2 separate regions of the Homo sapiens genome follow, and region 1 is linked to region 2. The links are contacts of gene promoters, found by promoter capture Hi-C in blood cells and fetal thymus (Javierre and others, 2016). All regions are on one chromosome and are shown on one strand. The core of a region is centred on a gene start or on the middle of the fragment in contact, and the rest is flanking DNA. Distances in the headings are between cores, read along the strand shown. Region 1 overlaps COA1 (cytochrome c oxidase assembly factor 1). Region 2 holds the start of LUARIS (lncRNA upregulator of antiviral response interferon signaling).

Region 1 (5,201 bases), core at 250-2,749, 190 kb before region 2:
CACTGATGTCAAGTGGAAAGCAAGAGCAGGACATGCTGACACCGACTAAAACCTTAAGTTGTACATCTCTGGGAGCTGAGACAAGAGCATCTAGGAGATAAGCTTGTGATCTAGACAGCCAGTCTCATAGCTGTTGCCATCTTATAAATAAATGTGTTTTTATACTCTATCTGCTGCTAACAGTTATTCTTACAAATAAATAATAATACATTTGTATGCATAGTCCACTTCATATAAACGCTATTAGTGGTGTTTCAAGAAATAAAAAATTTGAAAGCAAAATAAGTCCTAAAGTTGGCAGTACAATATATTATTCTGTATGGTAGTATATTAGTCCGTTTTCACACTGCTGATAAAGACATACCTGAGACTGGGCAATTTACAAAAGAAAGAGGTTTAACTGGACTTACTGTCTCATGTGGCTGGGGAATCCTCACAGTCATGGTGGAAGGCAAAGAGGAGCAAGTCCTGTCTTACATAGATGGCAGCAGGCAAAGAGAGAATGAGAAAGATGCAAAGTGGAAACCCTTGATAAAACCATCAGATCTTGTGAGACTTATTCACTACCACAAGAAAAGTATGGGGGAAACCGCCCCCATGATTCAGTTATCTCCCATTGGGTCCCTCCCACAACACATGGGAATTATAGGAGTACAATTCAAGATGAGATTTGAATAGGGACATAGAGCCAAACCATATTGTTCCCCCCCCGGCCCCTGCCAAATCTCATGTCCTCACATTTCAAAACCAATCATGCCTTCCCGACAGTCCCCCAAAATCTTAACTCATTTCAGCATTAACCCAAAAGTTCACAGTTCAAAGTTTCATCTGAGACAAGGCAAGTCCCTTCTGCCTATAAGCCCGTAAAATCAAATGCAACCTAATTACTCCCTAGATAGAATGGGTTTACAGGTATTGGGTAAATATAGTCATTCCAAATAGGAGAAATTGGCCAAAACAAAGGGGTTTCAGGGCCCATGCAAGTCTGAAATCCAGCGGGGCAGTCAAATTTTAAAGCTCCAAAATGATCTCCTTTGACTCCAGGTCTCACATCTGGGTCATGCTGTTGGAGCTGCCTATGGTCTTGGGTAGCTCCACCCCTGTGGCTTTGCAGGGCATAGCCTCCCTCCAGGCTGCTTTCATAGGCTGGCATTGAGTGTCTGTGACTTTTCCAGGTGGATGGTGCAAGCTGTCAGTGGATCTACCATTCTGGGGTCTGGAGGATGGTGGCCCTCTTCTCACAGCTTCACTAGGTAGTGCCCCAGTAGGGACTCTGTGTGGGGGCTCCAACCCCACATTTTCCTTCTGCACTGCCCTAGCAGAGGTTCTCCATGAGGGCCCCACCCCGCAGCAGACTTTTGCCTGGGCTTCCATACATTTCCATACATCTTCTGAAATCTAGGTGGAGGTTCCCAAACCTCAGTTCTTAGCTTCTGTGTGCCTGTAGACTCACCACCATGTGGAAGCTGCCAAGGTTGAGGCTTCCACTCTCTGAAGCCACAACCCAAGCTCTGCATTGGCCCCTTTCAGCCACAGCTGGAGTAGCTGGGACACAGGGCACCAAGTTCCTAGGCTGCACACAGCATGGGGACCTTGGGCCTGGACCACAAAACCACTTTTTCCTCCTGGGCCTCTCGTCCTGTGATGGGAGGGGCTGCCGTGAAAGTCTCTGACATGGCCTGGATACATTTTCCCCATGGTCTTGGTGATTAACATTGGGCTCCCTGCTACTTTTGCAAATTTCTGCAGCCAGCTTGAATTTCTCCTCATAAAATGGGCTTTTCTTTCCTATCACATTGTCAGGCTGTAAATTTTCTGAACTTTTATGCCCTGTTTCCCTTTTAAAATGGAATGCTTTTAACAGCACCCAAGTTACCTTTTGAATGCTTTGCTGCTTAGAAATTTCTTCTGCTAGATACCCTAAAAATCATCTCTCTCAAGTTCTAAGTTCCACAAATCTCTAGGGTGGGGCAAAATGCTGCCAGTCTCTTGCTAAAACATAACAGGAGTCACCTTTGCTCCAGTTCCCAACAAGTTCCTCATCTCCATCTGAGACCACCTCAGCTTGGAACCTTACTCTTCATATCACTATCAGCATTTTTGTCAAATCCATTCAACAAGTCTCTAGGAAGTTCCAAACCTTCCCACATTTTCGTGTCTTCTTTTGAGCCCTCCAAACTGTTCCAACCTCTGCTTGTTACTCACTTCCAAAGTCACTTCCACATTTTTGGGTATCTTCAACAACACCCCACTGCTGGTACCAATTTACTTTATTAGTCCGTTTTCATGCTGTTGATAAAGACATACCTGAGACTGGGCAATTTACAAAAGAAAGAGGTTTAATTGGACTTACAGTTCCATGTGGCTGGGGAAGCCTCACAATCATGGCAGAAGGCAAGGAGGAGCAAGTCCTATCTTACATGGATGGCAGCAGGCAAAGAGAGAATGAGGAGGATGCAAAAGCGGAAACCCCTGATAAAACCATCAGATCTCTTGAGGCTATTCACTATCGGAAAACTGCCCCCATGATTCGATTATCTCCCACTGGGTCCCTCCCACAACACGTGGGAATTATGGGAGTACGATTCAGGATGAGATTTGAGTGGGGACACAGAGCCAAGTCATATCAGGTAGTGTTATTCTTGCTATATTGTGTCTCTAAATACTACCCGTGTTTGTTGGTGTTTTTGAGTTTAAATATTCACTATAGACTGTCATCCTTTGTAAATACTTTAGGAGAGGAATTACAAGAGAAAAAGATATAGTGTTTTTGTGGGATACTTCAACATGAAATGAGAACTTGATCTAAAATTAGTGAAAGCAATATTCAAAGGCAAAACAAAAATGAGAGGAGGCAGCCAAAATAGTTAATCATTAAGAAGGTAAACAAGCTTATATGAAGCAACATACTCTTTTTTTTTTTTTTTGAGATAGAGTCTTGCTCTGTTGCCCAGGCTGGAGTGCAGTGGCACGATCTCCGCTCACTGCAACGTCTGCCTCCCGGGTTCACGCCATTCTCCTGCCTCAGCCTTCCGAGTAGCTGGGACTACAGGTGCTTGCCACCACGCCTGGCATTTTTTTTTGTATTTTTAGTAGAGACGGAGTTTCACCAAGCAACATACCCTTAACATTCAATTTAAAGATGCTGTTTGATGCACTCAGATTAATTTGATCAATGTCAATGTTAAATGTATGAATTTTTTCCTGTATCAGGAATATTATGAAACAAAGTTCAAGACTATTGGAAAAGGCAAGTAATACTTGGTGTGTTTCAAGCTTTCATATTAAGAATGATAACTTCTAAATACAGTATTATCTTTCAGTTTTTAGAATGATTTTTATTTGGCATTTATTTTTGTATTAAATGTTTCCTTTTTTTTTTTTTTTTTTTTTTTTTTAGACAAGAGGCTCACTCTTTTGCCCAGGCTGGAGTGCAGTGGTGCAGTCTTGGCTTACTGCAACTGCTACCTCCCGGGCTCAAGTGATCTTGTGCCTCAGCCACCTGAGTAGCTGGGATTATAGGTGTGCACCACCATGTCCAGCTAAATTTTTTGTAGTTTTAGTAGACGAGATTTCACCATGTTGGCCAGGCTGGTCTCGAACTCCTGGCTGCAAGTGATCCATCTGCATTGGTTTCCCAAAGTGCTGGGATTACAGATGTGAGCCACTGTGCCCACCCTATTGTTTCTTTTTTAATTTCTTCTAGTATCCCGTGTCTGTGTCAGATACAAATCATTTTTATACATTTTCTCAATATATAATTTTTTTTTTTTTTGAGATGGAGTTTCGCTCTTGTAGCCCAGGCTGGAGTGCAATGGCACTATCTCAGCTCACTGCAACCTCTGCCTCCCGGGTTCAAGCAATTCTCCTGCCTCAGCCTCCCGAGTAGCTGGGATTACAGGCTTGCACCACCATACCCGGCTAATTTTTGTATTTCTTAGTAGAGATGGGGTTTCACCATGTTGGCCAGGCTAGCGTTGAACTCCTGACCTCAGGCAATCCACCCTCCTCGGCCTCCCAAAGTGCTGGGATTACAGGTATGAGCCACCACACCCAGCCTCAATATATAATTTTTATACTGTATTGGTTCATACTAGTAATAAGCCATAGGTTTATAATTGTATCTTTATTTTTTAAACAGAAAATCTTTTAAAGTTTTAGTATAACTCTATTACAAAAAGATGATTCACTATTTATTTTTATTTTTAATTTTTTTAGAGACATGGTTTTGCTCTGTCACCCAGGCTGGAGTGCAGTGGCATGATCCTACCTCATTGCAACCTGGAAGTCCCGGACTCAAGTGATCCTCCCTCCTGAGTAGCTGGGACTATTGGTGCATACCACCGTGCCTGGCTAATTTTTTTTTCCTGCCATCTGTGTTTTAATATATTTTTTAAACAGAGTGCAGTGGTGTGATCTCGGCTCACTGCAACCTTTGTCTCTTTGGTTCAAGGAATTCTGCCTCAGCCTCTTGAGTAGCTGGGATTATGGGTGTGCGCCACCATGCCTGGCTAATTTTTGTATTTTTAGTAGAGACAGGCTTTCACCATGTTGGTCAGGCTGGTCTCGAACTCCTGATGTCAAATGATCTGCCCACCTTGGCCTCCCAAAGTGCTGGAATTACAGGCCTGAGCCAGTGCACCTAGCTCTAGACCCCCAGTCTTAATCATAAGCAAATACCCAAGGATTACCAGTTATTTGAGGAAAGCATCCAGCATCAAAGGTGGGTGGTGGGAATTAAGCAAAACAAAAAAGCAACTTGGAAGAAATACAGACTTTGCAGGGGAAAAAAACAGTTACCAACAATCTCCTACCCCAATTACAGATATATTCAGAGAGATGAGATGAAGATGAATAAAAACAGGATGCTCTATAAAGGACTAGCCATAAAACTTACCAGAGACTTGGGCAGGGAGAGGGGAAGGTAGGTAGGGAGAGGTCGTTCAAATGAGTACAAAGTTATAGTTAGGAGGAATAAGTTCTGGTATTCTATTCCACAGAAGGGTGATTATGGTTAATAGTAAGGTATTGTAGCAAAATTGCTAGAAGAGAGGCTTTTGAGTGTTCTTACCAGAAGGAAGTGATAAGTGCGTGAGATGATGGACATGCTAAATACTCTGATTTGATCATTATATAACATATATATGTATTGAGGCTGGGCATGGTGGCTCATGCCTGTATCCCCAGCACTTTGGGAGGCC
Region 2 (5,181 bases), core at 2,585-5,084:
AGTGAACATAATAGACAAGGCCCTCATGCTCCCATGGAGTGTACAATCTAGGGACATTATGCTTCAGGAAGATGTTAGAATTATTTAAATATGACCTAAGTCTAAACTGATGTAGCATTCTGTAATTTTCACATGAATGGCAAAATAATAATGGCTCTGACAACATCAAGTTGCCATGCCACACAAGATCTATGTACTGATACAATCAGGATACCAGAAATACCTGAAGCTATTTAAGTAATTGGTTCTGAATTAATTGCATAGATAGAGGGAAAATATGGAATGCATAAGCCAAATAAAATACTAAATCAGTATAATATTGAGGCTTGTGACTATGTTCTATGATGCTTTATTGTTTTGAAGATTTACCTACTGATGATATTTTTCTTTAGATAATAGAATTTATTGATACTCTTTAAAATTAGACTATAAAGAGAAAGTCCCTAGAAGTCTGGATAGTAGGGACAGCCAGTGTAGCCTTTGTTTTCTATTCATCATCTGAAAGTAGGAAGCCTCCCCTCTCCTCTGTACCCCTAAAGGTCCCAAGGCTGATCTGCTCTCAGCCTAGGCTGGAGGATCCATTTCCTGGATTACATCACACACTTCCCTAGAGGTCTATAGTGATTCCCATTTATCGTTCACAATGATATTCCTGATCATTAGTTTTATACATCTCCACCAACATCCCCCTTCTCCGATCCTGAGATCACTGAGCTACCTTGGTTCTGTTCTCAATTTGATTAGGATTGTACCTCTGTCCCTGGTCCACCTCTGCTAATGCCATTTGCAGTACTTTTTTCAGCTGCGCTATTTTTAATTGAGAATAACTGATGCTAGGTGGTTTACAATGGGCCCACCCCTCCTGTCATTCCAGTTTCTGTTGTTGTCAAACTCTTTACCCTCCACCCCGCTGAATGTATCCCTCCTCTCATGAAACTGGGCTGAACAGAAAGACGTCTTTATACTTTCATATAATTTGCTTTTTAAACCTCTCCCAACAGACAAAAAGACTTTTGAATGCAATATATTGATTCTGTCCATTCTATTTAGCATTTAAATATTCAGGAAATGAACTGATTTCATGGAAATTACATTTTCAGTAATTTAAATAATAGTTCCAATTTTGTTAATTTTCATACTTAGAGTCAAGCCTAAAAATTTCTCAGCCATGATGCTGACCACATATTCCGACCGATTATTGGGCTTGATATTGTTACTAGAGTGCTTTACTTTCCTTTGTCCTTGAAGCAAATTTCTAAGGTAGGCAGCATCGATGTTCATTTGTGTAATCATGCCATAATACATTCATAAAAAAGAGTTTTGAATCAACAAATAAAGCATAATTTTTAATCCCTATTTTATATTAGGATGCTGAAATAAGATAATGTAAAGAGTCTGCTCAAGTTAATTAACGCTGATTCTCGTGAAAACCTCCTCAGTTTAAATCCTGATATACCAGGGAAATTTGGAGACTTGTAAATAGCATTTCATGCCCCTCTACAGGACACAGGAGCTCCTTCCACCTCCCACTAATGCTTGCTTACATAATTTTGCAGTAACTTCTTTTCCAAATATTACAAGCACACGGGAGAGCTAGAGGTGAAACAATAGCCCCAAACCTGGGTCTCCACAGTCTCTAGTAGGAACTTGTGAAAAAAGAATTCTTTCAATTTTAGCTCTGCATGGGCATGTCAAAGCCTCTCCACTCCTCTCTTCCCATCTACAAATAAGGGATAATAATGTTAGTATTTGCTTACTTACCTCACAGGAGAATGAAAAGAAAGAGTAATTTAATGTTAATAGGTTCTTTGAAGATGAAAAGTACTTCATAATTGCTAAGTTCTATTACATTTTTAAAAACCCATCTCAAAGATACCCCTCTTTCCTTATCCTTCTAACTTTGTTTAATTAAAAATAATTATCCTTTCTCAACCTCATTATTTAAGTAATAAGACTTCATGACGTTCCCACACAATGTATGTTTCCATGCTTTACTCAGTGTTACTGCCTTCAGGTTTGGTCTTCTCATATTTTCTAACTTCTTATATATTAGAAAATCTAGTGAAAACCTGTTGTGTCTGCCTGGGGTAGATTTCATTTCAGAGTGTGAAAACTGCATGAACAGCCAGCTTTTTTTCTCACACTCTTTGAAAGACTCTTGACGCTGCTAACATCTAAGGCAAAATTTCTCAAAGGTGGTGGTGACCCTTCCATTGGTATCTGAATCCCTGGGGTGTTTGTTAAGATCTAGGTACCTGGAGATCAGACTCTATGGGGTGGGTTATGGAAATCTGCATTTAAAATAAATTCTGCAGTTGCCGACTAAAATTTGAGAACCACCCATTCCAAGTCCCTCATCTTTTTTTTTAAGATGAAAAACATAGTCTGAAGGTCAAAAGTGAAGTTTTTTGCCTTAGGCATCACTCATTGCATTTCCTCATGGATACTGGAAGAAGGGATGGAGGACAGAGGCTTTTCTAGAAGCTGAGAGTATGAATGGCTCCACTTGGCCTCCTCTCACACCACCGCCTGCAGGCACATGCATCCTTGCCTCCTTACACCCCACTAATTGGGGGGGTCTTCTTTTTATCTAATCCCCCTCATATCACCAGCCTCTCCCTCCCTCTGGTTCTTGCTTTCGGCGCCTCTCTCATTAGTAAGTACATCTGCAATCTACACTTGCCATTTATTTCCCTCGATCTCAAGGAAAAAGGGGCTGACTCTTTTCTTTTTTTCGAGATGGCGTTTCCCTCTTGTTGCTCAGGCTGGAGTGCAATGGCGAGATCTCTGCTCACTGCAACCTCCACCTCCCGGGTTCAAGCAATTCTCCTGCTGGGGCTGACTCTCTTTCAAAGCTAATGTCTTCACTTGGGCTATCTATTGTCTTTCCCTGCCTCCTCTGGGCTCTTCTTCCATCCACTTTTTGCTCTCTCTTATAATTCAAGATTTCTCTCTCTTCTGACATTGTCTCCTCAAAGGCCTTGCATCCTTCTAGCGGCCCCACAAAGCCAAGCTCCTAGAAAGAGCAGTTTTCAGGGCTGTTTGATGCTGGTGTTTAAAAATACGAGCAAGGCCAGGCATGGCGGCTCATGACTATAATCCCAGCACTTTGGGAGGCCGAGGCAGGTGAATCAACTGAGGTCAGGAGTTCGAGACCCCCCCCGGCCAACATGGAGAAACCCCTTATGTACTAAAAACACAAAAATTAGCCGGGCCTGGTGGCACACACCTGTAATCCCAGCTACTTGAGAGGCTGAGGCAGGAGAATTGCTTGAACCTGGGAGGAGGAGGTTGCAGTGAGCCAAGATCGCACCATTGCACTCTAGCCTGGGGGACAAGAGCGAAATTCCATCTCAAAACAAACAAACAAACAAACAAGCAGAACTACCTTTGGAAAGAGAACACACAGTACAAAGAGTAGGCGGAAGTGCCAGCAATAACATCCCCACCACGGAGCTGTTTTTGGAATAAATATTAGGGAAGCAGAGTTTTGATTCTCTGCAGCTCCCTGTCCTCCTGGCACAATCAAATTTCCCTGCTCCTGGCTTTTATACCAAGGCCAGCATTGCTGTCATTCCCTGTGCTCCGTGCACATTCTTGTGGGCTGAGTTCAGGGTTTGGCCACAGGCTAGTCTCCTGTCTCCACAGCTAATAGGGGGTTTGGTGTAGGCCCTGGCATCCCCACCAGTGGTTTGCTTTGTAATTTTTCCCTCTTGGCCTGTGGGAGGACTGAGGCATGGTGTCTAGAACTCCTGCGCAGCTGCAGGCCTGCTTGGAGGGTGAGGTGGCTGTTGTGGGGCAGGTGAGAGCACGCCAGGGCCATAGCTAACCTCCAGCCTTCATGAAGAGCCCATGGCAACTCTGTGGGAATCCTTCCAGCAGCCCGCTTATGGCTGGAGACAGAGGTGTGGCTTCTATCTAAGCTTTTCCCTCTGACTCAGTCCAGGAGGCAACTGTCTTGGGAAGCAAATGATAACAGCATCTGGGAGATTCTCTTCTGGATGGACTAGCAGGGAATCAGGACATGAACTCAGTGGACTAACTGCACCGAGACTCACCTGGTCATTACTTGAAGGTCATTACTTAAAGTAAGTTCTTCAGTTGCCAACATTTGAAAACTAAAGTGTGTGGTTCAGTTATGCTGGTCCAATAATCAGAGAAGTCTAATATGTGAGTGTCTTAGTTCATTCCTGTGGCTATAACAAAATACCATGGCTTGAGTAATTTATAAATAATAGAAATTTATTTCTCACAGCTCTGAAGGCTGAGAAATCCAAGATCAAGGTGCCAAAAGATTCAGGGTCTGGTAAGGCCTTGTTCTCTGCTTCTAAGATGGACACCTTGCGGTATCCTCAAATGGCAGAATGGGAAGAGCAAAAGGGACTAGGCCACTCCCTTCAACCTCTTTTATAGGGGGACTGATCCCATTCACAAAGGTGGAGCCCTCATGACTTAATCACTTTCCCAAACGCCTCACTTCTTTTTCTGTTGTTGTTTATTTTTGAGATGGAGTTTTGCTTTTGTTGCTCAGGCTGGAGTGCAATGCAATTAGGCTCACTGCAACCTCTGCCTCCCAGGTTCAAGCGATTCTCCTGCCTTAGCCTTCCTGAGTAGCTGGGATTACAGACATGTGCCACCACGCCTGGCTAATTTTTGTATTTTTAGTAGAGATGGGGTTTCACCATGTTGTCAGACTGGTCTTGAACTCCTGACTTCAGGTGATCCACCCGCCTTGGCCTCCCAAAGTGCTGGGATTACAGGCATGACTTTCCTTGCCCAGCCAAGGTCTGACTTCTTAATACCATCACCTTGGGGGTTAAGTTTCAACCTATGAATTTTGGAAAAACACATATATTCAACCCGCAGCCATGACGTATTCCAAGGCTGAAAATGTTTTCCTAAAACTCTAGGCCTACAGAAATACTTTTAATCCTGCAAAAATTTTGCTTAACCTTTTCTTTTTCCAGTCTTCCATCATGAAAACAGTGATTCTCAACAGAGTGATTTTGCCTCCTAGGAGAATTGTGGCAATGTCTGGAAACATTTTTGGTTGTGACAGCTGGGGGTGATCGTGGTGGTGCTACTGTACCTAGTGGGCAAACTCACTCTCTCAAGGCCTTTTATAAGGGCCTTACTCCCATTCATGACTCTGCCCTCATCGTTTAATCACTTCTTAAAGGC

Evidence for each region. Contacts are between HindIII fragments. The CHiCAGO score rates a contact against its expected background, and 5 or more counts as called.
Region 1: a contact is called between a fragment that was not itself captured here and the fragment with the promoter of LUARIS in region 2, in 4 of 17 cell types (non-activated CD4 T cells, activated CD4 T cells, total CD8 T cells and 1 more). The highest score is 5.7, in non-activated CD4 T cells.

The regions. Positions count from the first base shown.
Region 1 is chr7:43,713,204-43,718,404 of GRCh38, reverse strand. All of the region lies in intron 1 of COA1 (cytochrome c oxidase assembly factor 1), which reads left to right. Among named protein-coding and RNA genes, the nearest start is that of COA1, 14 kb to the left of the region's middle. The HindIII fragment of the contact is 2,789 bases long and covers 105-2,893 here.
Region 2 is chr7:43,521,195-43,526,375 of GRCh38, reverse strand. It overlaps LUARIS (lncRNA upregulator of antiviral response interferon signaling), which reads left to right and starts at 3,834. Exons shown (of 3, transcript NR_038276.1): 1 at 3,834-4,088. The region is part of intron 24 of HECW1 (HECT, C2 and WW domain containing E3 ubiquitin protein ligase 1); the gene reads right to left. The HindIII fragment of the contact is 11,394 bases long and covers 1-3,925 here.